Regions from separate parts of the Homo sapiens genome. Here regions 2 and 3 are each linked to region 1. The links are contacts of gene promoters, found by promoter capture Hi-C in blood cells and fetal thymus (Javierre and others, 2016). All regions are on one chromosome and are shown on one strand. Each heading gives the region's core, a stretch centred on a gene start or on the middle of the fragment in contact. The rest is flanking DNA. Distances are from core to core; before and after follow the strand shown.

Evidence for each region. The method cuts DNA at HindIII sites, captures the fragments that hold promoters and counts their contacts. A CHiCAGO score of 5 or more calls a contact.
Region 2: the fragment with the promoter of PPAN here is called in contact with the fragment with the promoter of HNRNPM in region 1 in 2 of 17 cell types (total CD4 T cells and naive CD4 T cells); the score reaches 5.8 in total CD4 T cells.
Region 3: the fragment with the promoter of ZNF846 here is called in contact with the fragment with the promoter of HNRNPM in region 1 in 1 of 17 cell types (M1 macrophages); the score reaches 5.6 in M1 macrophages.

What each region holds. Positions count from the first base shown.
Region 1 is chr19:8,442,807-8,447,321 of GRCh38, forward strand. It overlaps HNRNPM (heterogeneous nuclear ribonucleoprotein M), which reads left to right and starts at 2,169. Exons shown (of 16, transcript NM_005968.5): 1 at 2,169-2,305. The coding sequence starts at 2,193. RefSeq lists silencers at 1,928-2,207, 2,448-2,677. The HindIII fragment of the contact is 1,747 bases long and covers 1,811-3,557 here.
Region 2 is chr19:10,104,513-10,109,027 of GRCh38, forward strand. PPAN (peter pan homolog) reads left to right here and starts at 1,850. Exons shown (of 12, transcript NM_020230.7): 1 at 1,850-1,900; 2 at 1,989-2,159; 3 at 2,993-3,094; 4 at 3,292-3,342; 5 at 3,452-3,622. The coding sequence starts at 1,883. PPAN-P2RY11 (PPAN-P2RY11 readthrough) reads left to right here and starts at 1,850. Exons shown (of 13, transcript NM_001198690.2): 1 at 1,850-1,900; 2 at 1,989-2,159; 3 at 2,993-3,094; 4 at 3,292-3,342; 5 at 3,452-3,622. The coding sequence starts at 1,883. It overlaps SNORD105 (small nucleolar RNA, C/D box 105), which reads left to right and starts at 3,139; the gene lies at 3,139-3,223. It also overlaps a transcript of ANGPTL6 not described here. RefSeq lists enhancers at 1,487-2,130, 1,727-1,776, 3,419-4,062 and a silencer at 1,997-2,046. The HindIII fragment of the contact is 12,960 bases long and covers 97-4,515 here.
Region 3 is chr19:9,766,829-9,771,343 of GRCh38, forward strand. ZNF846 (zinc finger protein 846) reads right to left here and starts at 1,910. Exons shown (of 6, transcript NM_001077624.3): 1 at 1,461-1,910. RefSeq lists a silencer at 1,725-1,894 and enhancers at 1,838-2,703, 1,975-2,194. The HindIII fragment of the contact is 9,482 bases long and covers 1-4,515 here.

The DNA of each region.
Region 1 (4,515 bases), core at 919-3,418:
ACGGTGACTCACACCTGTAATCCCAGCACTTTGGGAGGCTGAGGTGGGCAGATCACCTGAGGTCAGGAGTTTGAGACTAGTTTGGCCAGCATGGCAAAACCCCATCTCTACTAAAAAATACAAAACTTAGCCAGGCGTCGTGGTGTGCACCTGTAATCCCAGATACTTGGAAAGCTGATGCAGAAGAATCGCTTGAAATCAGGAGGCGGAGGTTGCAGTGAGCTGAGATGGTGCCACTGCACTCCAGCCTCTGTGACAGAGCAAGACTGTCTCCAAAAAAAGAAAAAAATATATTATTGATAATCGCTGCATTGAAGGCCAGGCGCAGTGGTTTACGCCTACAATCGCAGCACTTTGGGAGCCTGAGGCAGGCGGATCACGAGGTCAGGAGTTCGAGACCAGCCTGACCAATATGATGAAACCTTGTCTCTACTAAAAATACAAAAGTTAGCCGGGCGTGGTGGCATGCACCTGTAATCCCAGCTACTCGGGAGGCTGAGACAGGAGAATCGCTTGAACCCAGGAGGCGGAGGTTGCAGCGAGCCGAGATGGCGCCATTGCACTCCAGTCTGGGCAACAAGAGCGAAACTCCGTCTCAAAAAGATAATCGCTGCATCTTACTGCCCAAGTTGCCACAAGCACACGTAACATCTGATGGTGCCAATTCGACTGTCTGCACTTGGAAAATGGCACATTGGAGGCTGCACAGCACCATAAAACTGATGCCACGAATGCACACAAAAATAAGACCATACAGCATTATGCCTAGTACAGAATACACCCTGAATTCTGTCACAGTTCACTTTATGCAACATTGCAAGAGTCCTCTCGCTCTTTATTATTATTTTTAATTTTTTTGAGATGGGGTCTCACTCTGTGACCAGGCTGGAGTGCAGTGGCCCGATCTTGGCTCACTGCAACCTCCTCCTCCTGGGTTGAAGCGATTCTCCTGCCTCAGGCTCCCCAGTAGCTGGGATTATGGGCGCCTGCCACCACACCCGGCTAATTTTTGTATTTTTAGTAGAGACAGGGTTTCATCATGTTGGCCAGGATGGTCTGATCTCTTGACCTCGTGATCCACCCGCCTTGGCCTCTCAAAGTGGTAGGATTACAGGCGTGAGCTGCCGCGCCCAGCCATTAATTTTTTTTTTAATTTTGTTTTTAACTTTTAGGTTTGGGGGTAAATGTGAAGGTTTGTTAAATAGGTAAACACTTGTCATGGAGGTTTGTTGTACAGATTATTTCATCACCCAGGTATTAAGCCCAGTACTCAATACTTATCTTTTTGTTTTTTGAGATGGAGTCTCAGTCTATCTCCCAGGCTGCGGTGCAGTGGCGTGATCTCGGCTCACTGCAACCTCCGGCTCCTGGGTTCAAGCGATTCTCCTGCTTCAGCCTCCCGAGTAGCTGGGATTACAGGCGCCCGCCACCACGTCCAGCTAATTTTTTTATTTTTAGTAGAGACGCGGTTTCACCATGTTGGCCAGTCTGGTCTCGAACTCCTGACCTCAGGTGATCCGCCGCCTCGGCCTCCCATACCCAAAGTGCTGGGATTACAGGAGTGAGCCATCGCGCCTGGCCCCATTATTAGTGAATTTTAACAGTTTTCCGTTTCTTCTGGACGAACTGTTTGCAATTATAATGCGAATTACGGATAATACTCTGATATTATTCCATGCCGTTCCGTTGTTGCCTACAAAGTTCGCGCTGGAGAACCGCGCAATTGCGTTACAAAAAGAAAAAAATCACACAAAAAGACACAATGTTTTAAGAAAGTTTACGAATCGTGTGCCGGACCGCGGGTTGAACAAGCTTCATCTAAAACTTCCAGGAATCTCTAGACAGGATCATTGCTTCCCCTCTGCTCCAGCTCTGGTTACAGAAAGCTGAGAGTGACTAGGTCTAGGTGTTTGTGTGGGGTGGGGTGGGGAGATGCCTCCTCTATCGGACTCAGAGGACGCGCGCCGGGAACAGCCAGTCGGTGCCTAACGCGAGTGTATCTCGAGAGAGAAGCGATCAACAGCTGCCGGTCTGCGCCTGCGCGCGGCGGGGGCGTGGCCCGGGGCGAGTGGGGCCAAGGAGGCAGCCGGGAGCGGCGGGCGCAGGTGTTACTGGTTGCGTCGGGTCACGTGGGCGCGCAGGCGCAGCGCGGTGCAGCCCGTTCGCTCACACAAAGCCCAGACGCGGAGAAAATGGCGGCAGGGGTCGAAGCGGCGGCGGAGGTGGCGGCGACGGAGATCAAAATGGAGGAAGAGAGCGGCGCGCCCGGCGTGCCGAGCGGCAACGGGGCTCCGGGCCCTAAGGGGTGAGTATCCCACGGTCCTTTGCCACGGGTAAGGGTTCCTCTCCGCGGCCGACGCGGGCGGCGGCTCCGTTAGGTCTGTTGGCGGCCTAGCCCCGGCGCGGCCTCGGCCCCGGCTGTTCCCGTACCGCCTGCTCAGGGTAGCGGCGTCTAGGGCCGTGAGCGGGGAGCCGGGGGAGCCTCCAGAATCGTCCCCTACACCGGGCCTCGAGCCTCGCCACCCTCAGTCCCTCCAGGCCGGGGCCAACCCCGTAGTCGAGGCCTCAGGCCCAGCTGCTGCGCATGGGGGTTGATGGCGCGGGCCCGGACCGGAGAGCCTCCGAGGCCTACCCGACCGCTCCCCGGGAGGGTGACCTCGGGGGCCGGGTTTCAGCCCCCCGTCCCCTCTCCTCCCGGGGTCTGTTTTCTGATCCGTAACGTGGGGGGAGGAGAGAGGGTGCGCGCCCGGGAGGCCTCGCGCGCAGTCAGCCCGAGTCAACGGTAACCGAGCGAGGGAAGCGTCAGGAAGGGCCGCGAAGCCGGGTCGGGGGGCTCCCCTCCTGCCCCGCCCCTTAGTCCCCGCGCGCCGACCGCGCTCCGCGGGAAGTGCCTCCCTCGGAACCGCCCCTCGCCCCACGCTCTGGCCCTGGCTCAAGTCCCTCGCCGTTTCCCGCTCCTCCTCCCCGGGTGCGCCGCAGGTATTAGTGGAGAGATGGGATCTGCTGCTTAGCGTTCACCCTCGGAAGCAGACAGATACGAAGTCGGGGGAGGAATCCCCTTTTTCCCGTGTTTCGGGGAAGCTGTTCTGTCAGGAGGCGGGTTCATTTACTTCCAGACTTCATCAGCTTTTCGAGTCCTGCTTGGGGCTCTTTGACTCCTTGGCTTTTAAAAGTTTCTTTAAAGGAGGAAGCATCGACTTGTGCCCCGGTGAAACTCATTCATTCTGATTACAGACACTTAAGAGAGACAGAGAGGTTTTGGCTCCAAGATCAGCGGCCGGGAAGGAAGGGGAAGCCTGGGTACACATTGAATTTCCCAGACATTTATTTCATTGTGGTAAAATAGACATAACGTAGACTTTGCCATTTTAACCATTTTTTAAGCGTATAATTCAGTGGCATTGAGTATACTGACTCAGTGTGCTGTAACCGTCACTGCTTCATGTCCAGAACTTTTTCATCATCGGAAACAGAAAGTGTAGCTATTAAATACTAACTCCCTCCGTTTTCTTTCCTTTCTGTCTGTGACTTTGCCTTCCTCATATTGTAATGTGTGAAGCTTAGTTTATGGAGATTAAAAGTGAATGCGGTTGAGCACTTATATATTTAATTTTTTTCTTTGAGACAGGGTCTCCCTCTGTTACCCAAGCTGGGATGCAGTGGCACGATCACAGATCACTGCAGCCTCGAACTCCTGGGCTCAATCGATCCTTCCATCTCAGCCTCCTGAGTAGCTGGGATCACAGGCGCGGCACCACCATGCCCGGCTAATTTTTTGAAGAGAGGAGGTCTCCGGGTGTTGCCCAGGCTGGTCTGAAACTCCTGGGTTCAAGCCATCCTCCTGCCTAGGCCTTCCAAAGTGCTGAAGTTACAGGCATGAGCTACTGCGCCCTGCCTAGTTGAGCGCTTAGGTTAAGAACGTTCCCTAAGTGCTAGCTATATTGGTAGATAATAAATCCGGAGAAAATTCCAGATTCTTTCCCTCCTTAAGTAGGGAGAAATAAAATACCATGGTTACTGGCCCTTAGAAATGAGAAAAACTTCCTCTATTCCCAGCATTTTACTATTGAAAACTCTGGGAAGGAATGTGTTAATTTTGACTTTTTCAGCGTCTATCTACGGAAGCTGGTAGGATTTCTGAGGGTGGTATTTGGAGGGCTTTAAGATAAATTTATTTACCGTATGCAGGAAGGAGTGCTGGTAGAACCTTGCTAGATGATAGGGTAAATTAATAGATTACAAATTTTCCCTTTTCCCCTGTCCATTTTCAAATAGTCATTTTGTGACTGAGTCATTTTACAAATACATGTGGACTGTTGGAACCTGAAAATTGTAGAATAAAATAGCCGTTGTGAGAAAGAGGCTCAAAGTCTCAAAGTCTAGTACTAGCTTCATAGAGGATAGTTTAGGAAGCTGGCAACACTTGGATATTTTTGATAGGGCCTGTGGAAAACTTTTTTTTTTTTTTTTCATTACAAGTCTTAAGGAAATCTCTTTAGAAGCCTATACTTTTGC
Region 2 (4,515 bases), core at 600-3,099, 1.7 Mb after region 1:
TGAGAAAAACATTCAGGAATCAGAGCTTTAACATGTTAAAGTTAGTGCTAAACATTGTCATATTGGATCTGAACCTATCCTAATATATAACCATAAAGCTTGACTTCTGCATTGGAACTATGCTTTCATAAATAAAGGATATCTCATTGATTAAAAAAAATTTTTAAAAAGACACAGCTGGAAACATAACAGTTTCAGGCAACAACTGTATGTTCCAAATATGGTCACACACACATCACAACTTAAAGGGAAATGGGGTGGGCTGAGTGGGTCTTTATCTGTGTGTCAGGCTTGTCCACATCCTGGTTCTTGTGATCACACAGTAGTGCACAGATACAAAACAGGTACACACAGTTGACACCCGGAAACCTATCCACCGCACCACAGAGGTCACCGTCTGTCTCCCACACACTCGGTCACATTTTCACACAAGTCAAATCACACGAGGACGGAACTGGGGGAAGTAACCATGCAGTCATTTCCCAGGGGTACAAAGAAACTCACATAGAGCCCCACAGAGCCCAGGCCCAGGGTCTGAGACCTGTCCAAAGGCCCCACCGACGACCAGCCACACGCCGGGAGAGTCACCTCCTTCCCCTGGTCTGCACCATCCTGAGCTCCCGAGTAACTCGAGTGGACTCCAGGGTTGAAAAAGGAAATGGTCGTCCCAGATCTGAGAGAGGCTGCCAGGCTGGGCTCTGGGCCTGGGTTGGGGCCCCCACACTGGGCCCCTCGGCCCCCCACCCTCAGCCCCCTCTGGCTTCCCCATTGGCAGTAGAGAGGGAGGGAACTTCATAAGTCACAGAGAGGGGCTGAAGAATACAGAGAGTCAGACAGATGGAGATGGGAGAGGCATAGGGAGATGGGAGAGACATAGGGAGATGGCAGAGAAAGGGAGAGACGGGGAGATGGGGAGAGACAGAGAGAGATGGGAAGATGGGGAGAGACCACAGGGAGGCAGATGAGAAGAAAGAAACAGGGATGGGGCCAGACACAGAGAAAGGAAACTTCTTTAGTTTCCATCTTCAGTTATAAATGATGAAAGAGACAACTGATGACAGAGACAAAGTTACAAGAGGGAGAAAGAGACAGGGGGAAGACGAGGGGGAGGGGAGACACATCTGGGGGAGAGGAGGAAGAATTGGGGTGCCAGAGAGAGCAAGGAGGGAGAGGAGGCCGATGGGGGAGGAGAGAGTAATGTTCAGCCCAGTGAGGGGGTGTCCCTTTCCCCCACTGCAAGGTTTTGGGGAAGAAGCCAGAGGCCTGAGGCCAAGACTGAGGCTTTGAGCGGAAAGAAGGAGGGGGCGAGTTATTCACGAAACGCCCGCCTTGCCCTGAGTTTCCAGAAGGTGATGTGGAGTTTCCATCCCTCAGCCTGTCTGCAGACAGGGGTACCCGGGGAGGACAGCTGGCCCAGAGGAGTTGCGAGACTAAAGTGAATGATTGCCACAGTCATTCCCTCCGGTGGCTTCTCCCCAAGTACTTGGCGCCAGAGCGCCCAACATTGTGCATACATGGTCGCTCCTAATTCGTGGGCCCGGGGGACATTATCAGCCTTACTTTGGGATATTTTAGGAGCCTCGGAATGCAGAAAGTGGTTTTAGCCCAGCTGGAGGAAATGGGCCGAAGCGGGATTCGAACCGGCGGATTCGTTTCTCTGCAGCCCGGAGCCGCGTAGCCCCGCCCCGGTCTCCCTAGAAACAGGCACCCGTGTCTCCATAGCAACCGCTCCATCTGATTGCCCCTCCCCGCTCCCAGAGGCCACCTAGTGCGCAGGCCCGCCTGATGTCGTCCCACGCCGTGCCGGCTCTCAGGCGCCGGAAGTGAGCTGCGCAGCGCCGGAAGCGGCGGACGCAGGAGGCCTCGTGGAGGACACAGCAGCATGGGACAGTCAGGGAGGGTAAGGCCCGGCAGCTTGGGAGGCAGGTGGCGCAGGTGGGGTCCCGGCCGAGGTCGCGGCGCTGACCCTTTGTCTCTCGTCGCCGCAGTCCCGGCACCAGAAGCGCGCCCGCGCCCAGGCGCAGCTCCGCAACCTCGAGGCCTATGCCGCGAACCCGCACTCGTTCGTGTTCACGCGAGGCTGCACGGGTCGCAACATCCGGCAGCTCAGCCTGGACGTGCGGCGGGTCATGGAGCCGCTCACTGCCAGCCGTCTGCAGGTTTGTACCCCACCCCCAGCCCGCCTCCACCCACCCTCGGCCTAGTCTTCGTAGCTGCAGTAATGGCTCCCGCTGTAAAACTGTGGGAGGACTTAAGTCTCCCCAGCTGGAAAAAAAGACCCTCATGGGGAGCATCATTTCTGCCTTTCAGGGCTTTTGCTGGGCTGGAGTGAGGGCGCGCAGCTTGGGAGATAGATAGTCGCCTAAGCCTGACAGTTAAGACTGGAATCTGGAGCCGGGCGTGGTGGCTCATGCCTGTATTCCCAGCATTTGGGGATGCTGATGCGGGAGGATCACTTGAGCCCAGGAATTCGAGACCAGCCTGAGCAGCATGGTGAAACCCCGTCTTTACAAAAAATAGAAAAATTAGTCGGATATGGTGTTGCGTGCCTGTAGTCCCGGCTACTCGGGAGGCTGAGGTGGGAGGATTCCTTGAGCCCAGGAAATTAAGGCTGTAGTGAATCGGGATCGTGCCACTTCACTCCAGTCTGGGCGACCGGAGGAGACCGTGTTAGAAAAAAAAAGACTAGAATCTGGAGGCAGCAAAGCAGGGTTGGAAACTGACTTCTCCCCAGTATCTGATGCAAGTTACTTAACCTCTCTGGGCCTGAGTTCGCTCATTTGTCAATGGGAAGATGCGCTGTGAGCAAGAGACAGAGTTAGAACTCAAATCTGCGTCCGACTGACTCTAAAGGCTAAGATCCTTTTGCTCCTCTGGGCTTGTTGAAAGGGTCAGATGCAAGACAGACCATAACAGGATCTGCACCGTCAGCTTATAGTTGTCACAACAAGGGATAAGCTATGTTTTCTTTTTTTCTTTTTGTCATTTCCAGGTTCGTAAGAAGAACTCGCTGAAGGACTGCGTGGCAGTGGCTGGGCCCCTCGGGGTCACACACTTTCTGATCCTGAGCAAAACAGAGACCAATGTCTACTTTGTGAGTAGACGCCCTCACCCTTCATCTCCCCCAGACCCCCCCTTCCCCTATCTCTCATGATGAACACATATGCCTCTGAGCTGCTGTGATTTCTGGCTTCAAAGTAAACGCTCTGAAGAAGAGATGGGGCAAAGGTGCCTACTCCGGGCACCTCTGCTAGACCCCTCCAGAGTCACTGATCTTTTCTTCTCCTGCAGAAGCTGATGCGCCTCCCAGGAGGCCCCACCTTGACCTTCCAGGTCAAGAAGGTGAGAGGGGTGGAGGTGGTACAAAGCCATGTGGGGTGGGAGCTGGACTTGGGGTTGTCCGCAGCCATGTGTGGTTGGTGGTCACCCCCTCCTCTCTCCTGTCCTACAGTACTCGCTGGTGCGTGATGTGGTCTCCTCACTGCGCCGGCACCGCATGCACGAGCAGCAGTTTGCCCACCCACCCCTCCTGGTACTCAACAGCTTTGGCCCCCATGGTATGCATGTGAAGCTCATGGCCACCATGTTCCAGAACCTGTTCCCCTCCATCAACGTGCACAAGGTGGGTCTGGCCTGGCGAGGTGGCAGGTATGGGGGGGTGCAGCGGATAGAGGTGCCACAGGCCCTCAGATGGATTGCTCACTCCTCCCAGCGCTGAGACTGGGAGCTCCTGGGTCTGCTGAGTCCTGAGGTCAAATCCCACTCCTGTGTCTGATGATGCTGGGCAAAAGTGTCCAGAGATTCCCCCAGCGGTCCACACCCCGTGAGCTGCACCTTTTCCAGCCGGTGGAAAGAAATACTGATGGAGCTCTGTTTCCCACGTGTGTTGAGTGCTGGGCTGAGCAGGATCGTAGCATCTCTTCTTAGGGCCCTGTTTTACAGAGGGAAGCTGCGGGCCCAGTGCTATGGCTTCGGCCTGTAATCCCAGTACTTTGGGAGGGCGAGGTGGGAGGATCGCTTGAAGCCAAGACTTTGAGATCAGCCTGTGCAACATAGCGAGACCCCATGTCTACAAAAAGTAGATTTTTAAAAAGCCCGGTGTGGCGGTGCATGCCTGTAGTACCAGCTACTGGGGAGGCTGAGGTGGGAGGATCACCTGAGCCCAGGAGGTCAAGGCTGCAGTGAGTTGTGTTCACGCCACTCTACTCCATCCTGGGTGACAAAGCGAGACACTGTCTCAAAAAAAAAAAAAAAAGCAAATCTGAGGCTGGCAGAGATGCTAAGTTTAGATTCCAGGGGGCAGGACTGGATTTTTAATTTCATCTGGCTCCTGAGTCCTAGCTCCTAATCCTTGTCACTAGTGACTCTCAGATGGGACTTATAAATTATATATAAGATATCAGTCATCAGGGAGGCTAATACGGCTCTGGGACCAGAATTTCTTGTTTACCTTTTTTTTTTTTTTTTGAGACGGAGTCTTGCTCTGTCTCCCAGGCTGGAGTGCGGTGGCACAAT
Region 3 (4,515 bases), core at 660-3,159, 1.3 Mb after region 1:
GGTGGAGGTTGCAGTGAGCCGAGATCATGCCACTGCACTCCAGCCTGGCAACAGAGCAAGACTCTGTCTCAAAAAAAAAAAAAAAAAAGTGTTCTCTTCAGCAATGCATGCACATCTTAAAGAAGACTTGATATTGTCACTGACTTTAGTTATGCTTTTATTTATTTATTTTTTTTTTTGTAGAGATGGGGTCTCACTATGTTGTCCCAGCTTGTCTCAAACTCATAGCTTCAGTGGCTCCTCCTGCTTCTGCTTCCCAAAGTGCTGGGATTACAGGGGTGAGCCACTGTGCCCGGCCTAGTTTTATTTATTTATTTATTTATTTAGACGGTGTTTTGCTCTTGTTGCCCAGGCTGTAGTGCATTGCCACGATCTCAGCTCACCACAACCTCTGCCTCCCGGGTTCAAGCGATTCTCCTGCCTCAGCCTCCCGAGTAGCTAAGATTACAGGCATGCCCCACCACACCTGGCTAATTTTGTATTTTTAGTAGAGACAGGGTTTCTCCATGTTGGTCGGGCTGGTCTGGAACTCCCAACCTCAGGTGAACCGCCCACCTCGGCCTCCCAAAGTGCCAGGATTACAGGTGTTTAAGTTACCGCACCCGGCCAATACACATTGATCTACACAAGAGATGCAAAGAAACAGAAAACATGCAAAATATTAACAAATGATCAGTCTACAACAAGGATATATAATAGGTGTTCAATATTCTGGCCTTTCACATTTTCTTTGGTTTAGAATATTCAATCTACAGATAGCCTGGGCAACAAACCAAGACCCTGTCTTTAAAACGTAAATAAATAAATAAAAATATATGAGGGGGAAGGCCAGGCGCGGTGGCTTATACCTGTAATTCCAGCACTTTGGGAGTCCGAGGAGGGTGGATCACGAGGTCAGGAGTTCGAGACCAGCCCAACCAACATGGTGAAACCCCGTCTCTACTAAAAATGCAAAATTAGCCGGGCGTGGTGGCACATGCCTGTAATCCCAGTTACTCAGCATGCTGAGGCAGGAGAATCGCTTGGACCGGGAGACAGAGTTTACAGTGAGCCTATATCACGCCATTGCACTCCAGCCTGGGCAATAAGAGCGAAACTCCGTCTCAAAATATGTATATATACGAGAGGAAAAACGCTGAATCAAAACATGTCTCTTTCACAGTTAATACAACTGTAATTTCTGATACTGGTATAATGAAGGCGGCATCCTACTTCCTGGAAGCCCCTCCGTTTTGAAGCTCTTTGGGAGGTACTGACCTAGGAAGTTCAGCTGCTTTTGATCTCAAAAACACAGCGGAGTATTGCTACTTTGCTTTATAACTGTGGCAATATTTGCTTTTATTTCTATAAACCTACAACTCCTGCACACTTGACAAAGCATTTAACTGCTGAGCAATTTCGCAAACTTCAATAAGCGATGCCCTCCCACAGCCAGATCATCTCCTCCGTCCAGGGCTCACCGGAACGCACTGCAATCGCCCTGTCGGTGACAAGAGGACGCTGGGGCCCTTTTCCACAACAGCTGAGATGCTTTTCCTTCTGGAGAAAGGACACAAAGGTTGACTGGCTGCTTTTAAACAGAGGGGCACGGTGGTTGGAGAAAAAAACACGTCTCCACCGGGGACCCTGGGCCAGGCCCAGACTGATGCGGGCGCAGCGGGAAGAGGCGCTCAGAAGAGAAGGCGGGAACCCCCCGCCTCGGGGTCCTGGCGGGGAGGAGGCGCCGCTTCTCCGGAGCAGCAGCGGGAGGCCGGCGCGTCTCAGACCTAGCAGAAGTCCGGAGCGTCACCCTCCGACCCTCGCTCCGCCTCCCGCTAGGCCCTCCTGCCCCGCCCTGCCTAGGTTGAGCATGAGCGCTGGCTGAGGTGAAAACCCAGCTAGGAAGCTGCTGGAGAGCGGGGAATACGTATAGCTGCGCGCCGGCTGGCACTTCCGCTTCCGGTTGCGCACGGCATTAAGTGTAGGGGCCGAGCCCCAAGAGCTTTGGAATGAGGATGATGTGAAGCTGAGAGAAGAGCTGGGGCCACCTCTTCGACACGCGTACAGAAAAGTCCCGTTTTCTCGCATCCCAGGTGGACCAGGATCCAGATCAATCTGTCGATATTGGGAACGACGCCGGACCAGGAAACCCAGCGCCAAGGGCCGGGTTGGAGGCGGGGACTGGCGCAGCGGGCGGGGCACGCGTGGAGGCGTCACCTAAGGCTTCGATTGCAGACAGCGGGATGCTCATCGAGTGCTTTTCTTTTCTTTTTTAATTTCTCTTTTTAGTTTTTTGAGATAAGGCTCCGGTCTGTCGCCTAGGCTGGAGTGCAGTGGCTCGGTCATAGATCATTGCAGCCTGGAATTCCTGCGCTGAAGCTATCCTCCCGCCTCGGCCTCCGGAGTAGCTTGGACCACAGTTGGGCCCATCACGCCCAGCTAAGTTATCTTTTTCTAGACACTTGGGTCTCACTGTGTTCCCTAGGCTGGTCTCGAACTCCTGAGCCTAAAGGATCCTCCCCCCTCGGCCTCCCAAGCAGCTTGGACCACAGGTGTGTGCCACCACGCCTGGCTAATTTATTTTTATTTTATTTTTATTTTTTTGTAGAGACAGGGTCTCTCTTTGTTACCCAGGCTGATCTGGAACTCCTGGGCTCCAGTGATCCTTCCACCTTGGCCTCCCAAAGTGCTGGGATTATAGGCGTGAGCCACCACCCTAGGGAAATTCTTTTCTGCAGGATTTTCTCCTTGTTTCTTCAACCCTCTGCAGGGATATAAACATATTTACAAAGATAATCCCGCTGTAGTCCTAGCTACTGCGGGAGAATCGCTTGAGCCCAGGAGTTCGAGACCAGCGACACCCTGTTTGAAAGATTAACCTGATGGGGCTGGGGGCAGTGGCTCACGCCTGTAATCCCAGCACTTTGGGAAGCCGAGGCGGGTGGAACACGTGAGTTCAGGAGTTCGAGACCAGCCTGGCCAACATGCCGAAACCCCATCTCTACTAAAAATATTTTTTAAAAAATAGCCGGGTGTGGTGGTGGGCGCCTGTAATCCCAGCTACTCGAGAGGCTGAGGCAGGAGAATTGCTTGAACCTAGGAGACTGAGGTTGCAGTGAGCTGATACGATGCCACAGTACTCCAGCCTGGGCGACAGAGTGAGACTCCGTCTCAAAAAAAAAAAAAAAAAGATTAACCTGTTAATCCATAAAATGCTCTGTGCCTCTGATACATTCAGTTCCTTCTTTAGGCCTTTAGTTTTGTTGTGATACAATTATCATAGCATACAATTAACCTGTTTAAAGTGTACAGTTTCGTGGCTTTTTGTATATTCATATATTTGTGCATCGATCATCACAATCAATTTTAGAACATTTTCATGACCACAAAAATAAACCCAGTACCCTAGCCATGATCACCCAATCTGCTCATCCAGCCCCACCCCCACCCCCAGAGTCCAAAGCAACAGCTAATCTTTCTGTCTGTATAGATTGCCTACTGTAGATATTGCCTGTAGAATTAGAATATAAAACACGTGGTGTTTGGCTTGTTTCATTCAATGTTTTCAAGGTTCATCCAATTAGCATGTATCAGTACTTAATTTTTTTTTACTAAATAAGATTCCATTGTATGGCTGTATCATAACATCAGTTGTTGGATATTGGGTTTTCTCTTTTTTTTTTTTTTTTGGCTTTTTTGGATAATACAAGACGCATTTTAAGCAGTGGTCAAAGGAACATTCATATTCCTAAACACTTTTGTCAATAAAAATAAGAATAGCTGGGTGCAGTGGCTCACACCTGTAATCCCAGCATTTTGGGAGGCCGAGGCAGGCGGATCACCTGAGGACAGGAGTTTAAGACCAGCCTGGCCAACATGGTGAAACACGGTCTCTACTAAAAAATACAAAAACCAGCAGGGCGTGGTGGTGCGCACCTGTAATCCCAGCTTCTCGGGAGGCTGAGGCAGGAGAATCACTTGAACCTGGGAGGCGGAGGTTGCAGTGAGCTGAGATGGCGCCACGGCACTTCAGCCTGGGCAACTGAGCACAACTGTCTCAAAAAAATAAAAAATAAAAAATAAATCCCCAGCTCAAAAAATAAAACCTAGAAAAAGAATATAAATGTAAACCAAAATGGAAAAAGGTTTATTTATTTATTTATTTTTTATTTCAATAGCCTTTGGGAAACAGGTGGTTTTGGGTTACATGGATAAGTTCTTTAGTGGTGATTTCTGGGATTTTGGTGCACCCATCATCCGAGCAGTGTACAATGTACCCAATGTGTAGTTTTTTATCCACTTTTATCCCTCACCCTTCTCCCACCCTTCCCCCAGAGTCCCCAAAGTGCATTCTTTCTTTCTATCCTTTTTTGTTTTGTTTTGTTTTTTCTTTTTGAGATGGAGTCTCATTCTGTTGCCCAGGCTGGAGTGTAGTGACATGATCTTGGCAACCTCCGCCTCCCAGGTTCAAGCAGTTCTCTTGCCTCAGCCTCCTGAGTAAGTGAGATTACAGACATGCGCCACCATGCTTGGCTA